4 separate regions of the Homo sapiens genome follow, and regions 1, 2 and 3 are each linked to region 4. The links are contacts of gene promoters, found by promoter capture Hi-C in blood cells and fetal thymus (Javierre and others, 2016). All regions are on one chromosome and are shown on one strand. Each heading gives the region's core, a stretch centred on a gene start or on the middle of the fragment in contact. The rest is flanking DNA. Distances are from core to core; before and after follow the strand shown.

The links. The method cuts DNA at HindIII sites, captures the fragments that hold promoters and counts their contacts. A CHiCAGO score of 5 or more calls a contact.
Region 1: a contact is called between a fragment that was not itself captured here and the fragment with the promoter of IRAG1 in region 4, in 1 of 17 cell types (neutrophils). The highest score is 8.2, in neutrophils.
Region 2: a contact is called between a fragment that was not itself captured here and the fragment with the promoter of IRAG1 in region 4, in 9 of 17 cell types (M2 macrophages, megakaryocytes, naive CD4 T cells and 6 more). The highest score is 8.7, in M2 macrophages.
Region 3: a fragment that was not itself captured here is called in contact with the fragment with the promoter of IRAG1 in region 4 in 1 of 17 cell types (neutrophils); the score reaches 6.2 in neutrophils.

What each region holds. Positions count from the first base shown.
Region 1 is chr11:10,390,270-10,392,969 of GRCh38, reverse strand. All of the region lies in intron 2 of CAND1.11 (a long non-coding RNA gene), which reads right to left. Among named protein-coding and RNA genes, the nearest start is that of AMPD3, 64 kb to the left of the region's middle. RefSeq lists an enhancer at 1-656. The HindIII fragment of the contact is 1,376 bases long and covers 650-2,025 here.
Region 2 is chr11:10,415,254-10,417,953 of GRCh38, reverse strand. All of the region lies in intron 3 of CAND1.11 (a long non-coding RNA gene), which reads right to left. Among named protein-coding and RNA genes, the nearest start is that of AMPD3, 39 kb to the left of the region's middle. RefSeq lists a silencer at 1,680-1,893. The HindIII fragment of the contact is 6,018 bases long and covers 1-2,700 here.
Region 3 is chr11:10,372,618-10,375,317 of GRCh38, reverse strand. The region is part of intron 2 of CAND1.11 (a long non-coding RNA gene); the gene reads right to left. Among named protein-coding and RNA genes, the nearest start is that of CAND1.11, 66 kb to the right of the region's middle. The HindIII fragment of the contact is 1,256 bases long and covers 799-2,054 here.
Region 4 is chr11:10,692,357-10,695,201 of GRCh38, reverse strand. It overlaps IRAG1 (inositol 1,4,5-triphosphate receptor associated 1), which reads left to right and starts at 1,447. Exons shown (of 21, transcript NM_130385.4): 1 at 1,447-1,666. The coding sequence starts at 1,600. The HindIII fragment of the contact is 5,409 bases long and covers 1-2,612 here.

The DNA.
Region 1 (2,700 bases), core at 88-2,587, 300 kb after region 4:
CACGTGATGCTCTGCGTGGGTTTCTCAGGGGTGAAGGGTTGACTCAGCCTGGCTGCCTGAACCCACTTTCCAGCTCTCTGGCCCGCGGCACATCCTCAGCATGGCCTCCACACCACAAAGCAAGATGCGCCCTCTCTGCCTTCACTGCATTCAAATCCAAAAGAATTTTTCCATGATTTGTCACTTTCAGAGAGGGCTTACATAAAGAGTAGTTGTTTCCAGAGCAAAGCAAAGAATAATCAATGGAATTTAAAACAATCCTAAGAAAGGCCAGCCCCAGTGGAGCCAAGAAAGTTCTCCTGCCCCAGTTGAATCACTATTATGCACAGTCCTGGCCCTGCAGGAACCCAAGAGCCCTCATATTGGAAGGGTATTCCAGGTCCCCCACCCCTGATGCCTTTACTCAAGTCTGTTTGAAAGACCTTAGCTTTAGTGCAAGGCTCCCAGGGAAACAGATAAGAGGGTGTCCCTCCTACCTTACCTATTCTCCATATGCTGACAATTCAGCTTTCGCTCCAGCCCAAGCCTCTTCTGAGTTCCAGTCTCATTTATTCAAGTGCCTACCTGACCTTCGTGGATGTCTAACGGAGATCTCAAACTTAACATGCTCAAATCCGAACTCTGGATTTCCTCCCTGAACTCGGAAGCTTCTCTGCTTGTGATCTTCATATCTCAGTTAAAGACACCACTATTTGTGGGGAAAAGCAAGAGAGATCAGATTGTTACTGTGTCTGTGTAGAAAGAAGTAGACATAGGAGACTCCATTTTGTTATGTACTAAGAAAAATTCTTCTGCCTTGAGATTCTGTTAATCTATAACCTTACCCCCAACCCTGTGCTCTCTGAAACATGTGCTGTGTCAACTCAGAGTTAAATGGATTAAGGGCGGTGCAAGATGTGCTTTGTTAAACAGATGCTTGAAGGCAGCATGCTCCTTAAGAGTCATCACCACTCCCTAATCTCAAGTACCCAGGGACACAAAAACTGCGGAAGGCCGCAGGGACCTCTGCCTAGGAAAGCCAGGTATTGTCCAAGGTTTCTCCCCATGTGATAGTCTGAAATATGGCCTCGTGGGAAGGGAAAGACCTGACCGTCCCCCAGCCCGACACCCGTAAAGGGTCTGTGCTGAGGAGGATTAGTATAAGAGGAAGGCATGCCTCTTGCAGTTGAGACAAGAGGAAGGCATCTGTCTCCTGCCCGTCCCTGGGCAATGGAATGTCTCGGTATAAAACCCGATTGTATGCTCCATCTACTGAGATAGGGAAAAACCGCCTTAGGGCTGGAGGTGGGACCTGCGGGCAGCAATACTGCTTTGTAAAGCATTGAGATGTTTATGTGTATGCATATCTAAAAGCACAGCACTTAATCCTTTACATAGTCTATGATGCAAAGACCTTTGTTCACGTGTTTGTCTGCTGACCCTCTCCCCACAATTGTCTTGTGACCCTGACACATCCCCCTCTTCGAGAAACACCCACAAATGATGAATAAATACTAAGGGAACTCAGAGGCTGGCGGGATCCTCCATATGCTGAACGCTGGTTCCCCGGGTCCCCTTATTTCTTTCTCTATACTTTGTCTCTGTGTCTTTTTCTTTTCCAAATCTCTCGTCCCACCTTACGAGAAACACCCACAGGTGTGGAGGGGCAACCCACCCCTACACTATTCACTCAGTTTCTCAAGCAGAAATGTGGCAAAAGTACATGAAGTCTCCCTTGCCCACCACATCCTACTCTATACCCCAAACTTGTCTCCAGTGCTGTCCCATCAAATTAAGCCACCCATCATCCCTTGGCTAAAAGACCAGCAGTTCCTTGCTTCCATGTGACCCCCTCTCCAATCTATTTTCCACGTAGCAGCTAGAGCAATCTTTTAAATCAGATCACATCAATTTCTGCTTTAGCTCTTTCCTTTTATAACTTCCTCACCAAGGCCAAAAAGCTGTGCATGAATATGTCTCCTGCCTTCTTCCCTGGTCTCATTTTATGCCACTTTCTCATTTGCTGTACTTCAGCCACATCAAGCTTCTTTCCAGTTCTGGAACATGTTTCCTTCTCCACCTCAGGGCCTTAGCACTTTTTGTTTTCTGTTCTCTGCACATTTTTTTCCCCTATGACATCCTTCAGATCTTAGCTTAAAGGTCACTTCCTCAGAAAGCCTACTCCTAATACCCTTCCTAAGTAGGTGCCCTCATAATTTGTTGTCATTTTCTTTTGCAGTCTTATTCTTTATATAACATTAAGCCAATTAGCAGTTGACAATTAATTATATGTTTACATGTTTATTGCCAGTCTCCCTGCCATTGTCTGCTATCCCCATAAGAATGAGCCTAGACTGGAGACATATTAGCAAGTCCAGCTGGAGACAGTCCAGGTCCTGCCAGACAGAGGCAGGGCTTGAGGCAGACACAAGGCTCCTTGCAGGAAGAAACCATGCCTGAGTTGTTTACACAGGACTTGGCAGATACATTTATTAGATGACTGGATGGGTGGATGGATGGGTGGATGGATAGATGGATGGATGGATGGGGGAATTTCAGCTGTGGGCAAAAGGCAATAGAAACCATGTCTGAGGAATGGGTGGTGACTGAACAGAACAGACCCTGCACTAGCAAGAATTCTATAGTCCCAAGTTCAGAGAAAATGTCATTTTAGCACCTAGATGAGAAAGAGATTAGGATAAGTCAGGCTTGCATGTGCTC
Region 2 (2,700 bases), core at 184-2,683, 280 kb after region 4:
CAGCCTGGCGACCGTCTCAAAAAAAAAAAAAAACAATCAGTTTGCTTTTTGAAACCCAGAATCAATAACTGGGCTTAGTTAATAACTGGTGCCTGAAGAAGAGAATGAATTATCTTAGTTTAGTTCTTCATATACATTGAAGAATGATTATGAGACCTTAAATTTATCAGCATTTTGAATTAAGGTAAAGGAAGACTTTCCTTTGTTAAGTAGAAAGAGTGTCCTACTATTACTACCATTCACAACAACTAGTTTGTGTGAACTAGGGTTTTCTATCTTAACTCAGTTAAAAGCAACAGAAAGGAATGGATCAAATGGTGCAGCAGCTATGTGGGTAGCATTATCTTCCTGTGTTCCAGACTGGAATGAACTTATGAACAGGCAAGCACACCCATCATAATAAATAAAATCTTATCTAGGTTTTGGTTTTGTATTTCTTATTTTGTAGTATTTTTCTATGTTATATTTAAATGGGAATATAACATTATATGTGATACTTTTGTTATGTTTTAATTTTTGTTGTATCTGATAAAATTATTTTATGTTTGCTTAAAAAAAGAAAGTATGGAAATGAGATAATACATGTGAATATACTAAAGTGCTCTGTTGACTGTAAATCATTGAACAAATGTAGTAACTATTACATTTATTTCTAAAAGGGTGCTCTCTGGAGGGTAATGGAGGTATGTGGTCAAGAAATAGTTAAAAGTCAAAACCCTAAGTGGCTACAGATGTTTAATGGTAGACCAGAAGGATGGGGAATCAATGACTTTTGGCAGTAAGGAGCCCTTTGTAGGTCAGCATCCACCCCTGCTGACCAGCCTGCTCCCATGATGTGGCCCAGCATGAGGCACAGCTGAGGAGAAGCCAATCCTGGGCACAGCTGGAGGCAGGCAGAGACCCTCACAGGTGTCTAGGCCATGCTCCTCAACTGGACAAGGCTGGTAGAAGCCACCTAGGGGGATCTGGGCCAAGGAAGAGCTTTAGAAACAAGGCTGGAAAGAGAGTTTTTATTCAGGTTGCCATAGGTGGAATAGAGCCAGCAGCACGGACCAAATGTCAGGTGCAAAAGACAAGGTGAAGCCAAACATGGAACAATGGCAGGTCAGGAACTGGCAGGATTAGGAACAAGCCAGAACACAGTGTGTGGAGCTGTCAGGTGATGTTCAGGTCCAAAGCTATCAAGCAAAGGATATTGAGACCCATGTTAGTGTCATGCTGGCTTTGTGACCCAAAGACAGTCCCTAGTATCTTAAGGAACCCATGCAGAGCCAAACATACTGGATAAAAATAAACTTCCTCAAAAACATGACTACTGGGCCGGGAGCAGTGGCTCACGCCTATAATCCCAGCAACTCAGGAGGCTAAGATGGCGGGATTGCTTGAGTCCAGGAGTTTGAGACCAGCCTGAGCAACATAGCAAGATGTCTATAAAATATTAAAAATCACCTGGGTCTGGTGGCACACACCTGTAGTCCTAGCTACTTGGGAGGCTGACGCGGGAAGATCACTTGACCCAGGGAGGTTGAAGCTGCAGTGAGCCATGATCACCACACTACTGCATCTGGCCTGGGTAACAGAACAAGACCCCATCTCTTAAAAAAAAAAACAGCTATTGAAAATTTTCTCCTTTATTGTGAGCTTTCAGCACCTGCTGATGGAGAGACTGAGAATTCCCCACTATTGATATTAAGACCCATTTTTTTTTTGAGACAGAGTCTCCCTCTGTCTTGCCCAGGCTGAAGTGCAGTGGCACCTCGGCTCACGGCAGCCTCTGCCTCCCGGGTTCAAGCGATTCTCCTGTCTCAGCTGGGATTACAGGTATGTGCCACCACACTTGGCTAATTTTGTATTTTTAGTAGAGATGAGGTTTCACCATGTTGGCCAGGCTTCTCTCGAACTCTTGACCTCAGGAGTCCTTGGCCTCCGAAGTGCTGGGATTACAGGCGTGAGCCACTGCACCTGGCCAAGACTCATTTTAAGCAAGCAAATCATTTCAATGCAGACAGTATGGCATGCAGACAGCTTGAGATGCAGAAGAAGACTTAGAAGCAAAACCAGACAATAAATGAAGAGGATGCTGACAGAATCAGGACAGAGATAATCTCCTGGACACATCTGGCTACAGCTGTCACAGTCCCCTAGAGAAGAGGGACTGGCATCAATAACTGAACAGCACTTCACCCTTTTTGTGATGATTTTGTGTCTATACATTTGCTTAATTCCACTTGTATAGTTCTCATCTCCTAGTGCCAGTATAGTCATTCTAGACTGACCTCTGTGTTGCCATTGTCTTTACAGAGTTCAGGAGAAAACAAAACACCATAAGAAATGCTTGTTGTTATTTAAACAAACAAACAAAAGATACCTAGGCCAGGTGGATTCCAACAGGTAGTCACTGTTTAGGTTCTGCTGCCCAAATGGAGCCAATCAGGTAACTGCTGTCCTTGCCCACTTGGCAAATGTAGAACAAGCCAGAACATTAAAAAACACAGCCTGAACATGCCTCATGGCTATGTGGGTGTGCCACATATTACACAAGGACATAAATTAATTAAGAAGCAAGGAAGGGACTTAGGACTGGGTGAGACATGAAGGAGTCCAAGAAACAGCAAGAACTCCAATCACTGAGAACATGACCTGGGAACCTGCCAGCCAACTGTGCCATCAAGTTAATAAGAATGTGTCGGCCGGGCGTGG
Region 3 (2,700 bases), core at 177-2,676, 320 kb after region 4:
AGAAGGGGAGGGAAAGAGAAGCTATGCAAGCTCCCAGGATGAACAAGACATAGTGTCAGCCCTCACAGATTATAAACTAGGGGAAAAGACTGTTGTATACCAAGCTAAGAGGAATGAAAAGGGTATAGGATAGGGCTGTCTGCACTCGCCATGGGATGCAACAGGAGCCACTTTTAAGTCCTGTGCTAGGTATGGCAGGGTCAAAGGTCAGAGAGAGGGTCCTCTCCGGTCTAGAGATAGGAAAGCTGGCTAGGCAGAAGGGATACACTTACATACCATCCCAGAACCTTGAAAAAGAGGAGAGAGCTCTAAAGTTCTGGGAATCAGTTGCCACTCCAGTTTTATACCTCTAAGTCAATACCTGTTTCTCTAAAGGCCTTCCATTTCTCCATGAGCAAAAAACAAGAGCCACAGCTTCCCTCCCCACTGCCCCACTCCCAGCATCCAAGGCCTCATTCATTTCAAAAGAAGCCAAGATTTCCAAACTTGTTCCCAGACTTGTCGCTTACCTTGTCACTGGCAGGGCTTCTCTCTGAGAGATGTGTCAGGGTCCTATCTCCCAGGGAGCCTGCAGCTAAGTCTGGTCAAGAGAAGAGAGGCTGGATCTTCCCATTAGACAATCAGAATCATGGTGCTGTTTCTGCCTTGCTGGCTTTCTGTGTGCTGCTTCTGGTCTAACATGTAGCCCAAACAGATAGGCACAGGAGACAGCTCATCTGGGACATACACTCAGCCCAGGAATGATGACTACAATGCCAGCAGGTCCATTCATTCAGACCTCCCTCCTGAACAAAAGCTTCTGTGATTCAGGACTTTGTAAAGATGACAAAAGGATCGTTTGAAAGACCTAAATCCCCCTATGACATTAACCATGTAATATGGTTTGTGAATTATACATACATATAGATAAACATGCATGCATGCATAAACATACATATACATACACATGCATGCATATATGTGTATATACATGTATATGCATTTGTATGCATGTACATATAGGTCTATGTATATACATGTACATACACATATATACAGATATGTGTGTATATATAGGCATATATACACATATGTGTGTGTGTGTGTATACATGTATACACATATACAGTGACTTTGAATAAAGTACAGTCATGGCCTAGGGGCCTGAGGTTAACTGCCAATCCTCCTCACCAGAATGAAACTGGCTACAGGTAGAGTTTCTGTGACGGCCTTTTATGGTCTACCTCTGCCTGATCTGACTGTGCATCTGCTCCCCCACTTCTCTATCTTGATGATCTATATCCCACACAGACCCACACTTCCTTTACAGGTCCCATTTACCAACTGATAAATATGGAGAATTATCAGTAATAGATCTGATCTATATCTGTGCAGGCTATAGATCATCACTTTTGCCACAATTAAAAATAAAAATAAAAAAGGAGACCATCTCCTTTTTTATTTTTATTTTTAATTGTGGCAAAAAAACACACGCACAATGGAAAATTTACTATCTTAACCATTCTTAAGTGTACAGTTCAGTAGTGTTAAGTATGTTCACACTGTTGTTCTCCATCTCCCCTTTAGCACTTACCTAAAAGCCTTGAAGCAACACAGTCTTCATTTGTTATGGTTAGATTGCTTCCAGAAATTTGACTCCTCTTTGCTCCTGCACAGATCTGTGTAGAGCTGAAGTGCAGGAGGTTCATACTTGACCTCAAATGCACTCTGCTAATGGCTATTATAAATTATCTTCACATTTTGCTGACTCCATGGATAAAAGCAGGTCAGCTTCCTGCAGCCAAGAGTCTTGGGCCAGGCAGTGGCATGGGCTCCCTTCCAGGGAATCGGTCTCAAAAAGGAGTGGATCTACTTGTGTTCACAACACAAGAGTTGGACTGTTTGCGTCAGATGGGGACACCAGACGACTGTGCCTTTAAGGGTGGTAGGCACCCACCTGTGTGGCCCCAGCTTTGCCCTTTGGAGGAGGCACTTGAAAGAAGCAAGTTATGTAATGTCAGGTTCCTCATCTGAAAAATGGGAATAATATCCACCTTATAGATTATTTCAAAGCTTGAAAAAGATGATGTTCATGAACTGTTTGTTTTCAAGTAGTAAATAGTTTAAAATAGTCACATGGTAAGTGCTTTTTCCCCCAAGTTTAATTTTTCAAATTCATTTCTATCTTGCAGTATACTATACTTCATAATATGTCCACTCTTTGAACTTCTATTTAATTGACAAATGAAAGTGTATATATTTGTGCAACATGCACAACATGATGTTTGATAATGACTACATTGTGGAATGACTAAAAATTAACATAACCATTATCTCACATACAAAGAGACTTCACAAAGTTTATGAAAAATGTGTCTTATGAGAAAACTATGCATGGATTTAAAATTTTTTCTGCACCAACATAAACTCATACTAACTTGTTATAATATGTTGAACAGAATCTAGTTTGAGGCACTAAGGAGGATAAGACATGAGTTTGAAAAGAGCCTCTATCAGACCAACATGAATTCTACTAAAATTGAAGAACAAACATCAGATTTATGGTGAAGCTTGGGTGGAAGAATGATAAAATCACTGATGCTTTACAAAAGTTTATAGGGACAAAGCCCCAAAGAAATCAGCAGTTTGCAAACAGATACCTCATTTTAAGAAAGGATGAGACAATGTTGAAGATGAAGCCTGCAGTGACCGACCATCCAC
Region 4 (2,845 bases), core at 198-2,697:
ATTAGAATTTCTGAAAGAGGAACCCAAGGAGCTTCACACTTGGGGGTTCTAATGCACATTGAAGTTGGAGAAACAGCACTGAAGAGTTTGGTCAGTTCCTTCTAGACCATATACTTGCAATTCTAGTAGTTACCACCATGTGGCTTTGTGGGGGACGGGGGTTGTGGGGGGAGCCTGTACCTCCATGTGGACAGGTGTGGACACTTGAGAGAAAGCATGGCTAGTACCCAAGACAGCCTCCTCTGGTTTCATTTACAAAAAACAATTATTGATGAGGGTAGCGGACTTCATGCGCTGCACCCCTGTTAGTGATCTCTCTTACAACAACCACACAGAAGAGACAGGACTTCCTGAGAACCACATGCCTGAGGAAGGTGCTGGGATGGAGGCTCAGTGGGCCAGGCTCAGTGGAGAGCATCTGCCACTGCTGCACAACTGATCTGTGGCCAGGAGCTGAGCATAAGGACTGTGTTTGCCAGGAGAGCTTGAGGCCATAGGCCTGGGAGCTCCAATCCCTAGTGCTCTCTACCATGACTACTGAATGTTTTCTGGGTGGCTAATGATGGCCAAAAGCTAGGGTTCCCGGATTTATCAAACAAAAATAGAGGATGACTAATTAAATTTGAATTTCAGATAAATAACAGTCTTTAATACAAGTATGTCCTGTGTTTATCTGAAATCCAAATTTAAATGGGTGTCCTGTAATTTATCTAGCAACTTTACCTAGGGTTTCTCTGTGCTGCTCTAACCACAGAAGGGGCTGAAGTCCCCATGTGGCTTGCCCCCAGCTTGGAGCTCCATGATCCTGGCCTTGGGTAGGCCCTATACCCAAGGCAGGTGAAGAGTGTGTATGGACAGGGTATGGATTTCCTGGGCAGGGGCAGGAAGCTCATTCATACTGATCTAGCTCTTATGAGATGCTGGCAGTGTGTTAAACACTTGACTAACATCTCATTTAATCCCCTGACTACCTAGTGAGTCGGGCATTATCATTATTATTTCCACTTTAGAGATGAGGAGACTGAGGCTCCACGATGTTAAGACCACAGGCTGTTTAATGGAGGAGCAAGGTTGACATCCCTGGGGCTGGTGCCAAGTCTGGGAGTAGCTGAATCTCCCAGGCCATTCTCTCTGGCAATCCCAAGAGTTTAACGCAGTGGGAGCAGCCCCTGCCCCCGAATCCCCAGGACAGGAACCATTCCCAGTTTCTCTTGGCGCTGGCCCAGGGTCTTCTCCAGGCTCACATGCTTGCTGGAGGCTCCAGGCGGGTGGGGAGATCTGCAGGGTCCCTTTGTTCCCGTCCGGCCAGGACAGTGTCCAGTGGCACGAGTTGCCATGGGGACTGCCATCTGCTGTGTGGATACCCATCGGAGGGGCCCAGGGTGAGCGACTGCCCCAAAGGCCCAGCCTGCCCTGAGCCCTGAGGCCAGCTGGTCGGCTTTCCCTGCCATTATCCCCCGAGCCAGGCCGGAGTGGGGCTCCCAGAGGAGCTCTCGGCTCTAAGTCCCAGCCCCTCTCAGAGGAGGCGTGCGGCCGAGGTTCTGCAGCCAGAGGCTTCTCGGCTCTGAGCTCCGGAGCCAGATGTAACATTGACCTTAAATGGTAAAAGCTCCCCAGAGTGAAGAGAGGCTGGCCAGAGGAGGAAAGGAGAATAACTCAGTTTTAGGTAAGCCTCCCCTATATCCTAGAATAACCTGCCTCTTCGGCTGGGAAGCGGAGGGAACCTTCTCTTCCTTAAAGGTACAGGGTGCTGGGATGGGGGTGCTAAACTTTAACTTTCCAGGGGAGCTGGCTTTGTTGGGTGGCATTTCAGCTGAGTATCTTTATTGTTGCTGTCTTAAGTTTTAAATCAGAAGTGAATCTTGCCAGTCCTAACTTAACTAGATTGTGCTCCTTTTGCTTGCCGTTGGAAAGTGTGCACAGCTCAGGGTGAAAATGTGGGTCCTGACAGGCGATTGCAACCCCTAGCTTTCCTGTGGGCCCCTTTGTGGCAACAGTGGGGTCTTCAGCTTTGGCAAGTCTGCTAAGCAGAGCTTTCTCCCCTCTGTGCTTCCTGTGTCTCTCTCTCTGTCCCCCTACGCCCCTCTGCCTTGAACCTGGGCTGGCATGACCTGTCTAGATCCTTAAGCCTGCCTCTATTTCTGTCTCTGCCCTTCCCATCCTGTGTTCTTGTCACAGTCCCTGTTTTTATCTCTGTCCCTGTCTCCTCTTTTGTCTCCAGCTTCCCCTGGCCTGTGCCCTTCCCTGCTCCCTAGAGGGGGTGTATGTGCCCGGCCCGTGCCCGGCCCTGCTCACCTCCAGGGCTCCGAGTTGAAGCGATTCCTAGAGTGAGCACCATTTGAACTGGCTTTTTCCAAAGGAAAAGCCAGTGGAAGCCAGAGGCCAGAGAGAGGCCCAGCTGTCTTGCTCCCTCCTGCCCAGGAAACAGTTGTAAAGGCTATAGAGGCTCTGCAGTTTGAGTAAACAGCAGCCCGGGGTCTGGGACCCCTGGCCAGCACTCCAGCCTCCCAGAGCTCGGCAGCTGCTGAACACTCTTCAGGCTGCTCACTGGGGTGGCACAGGGAAGTAAATCTGGTCTGAGCAGAGTCTTTTGCAGGGAAAAGGAGGAAGCTTCCTGGGACTGTGAGGCTGGGGGTCCAAAGGAGTCAGGACCTGCCAAGGATTGTATTGCCCCCACCGAGGGACGATGACATGCTAGTGAGGCAGGTGGAGTTGCCCATCCCCCTGCACTCCCCTACCCCAACAGTTCTATGGGGGAGGGAACTCAGGTTAAGTGACTTGCCTAAGGTCGTTCCACCAAGATGGAGCGGAGCTAGGACTCAAACCCTGTATGAGTTTGTATGAC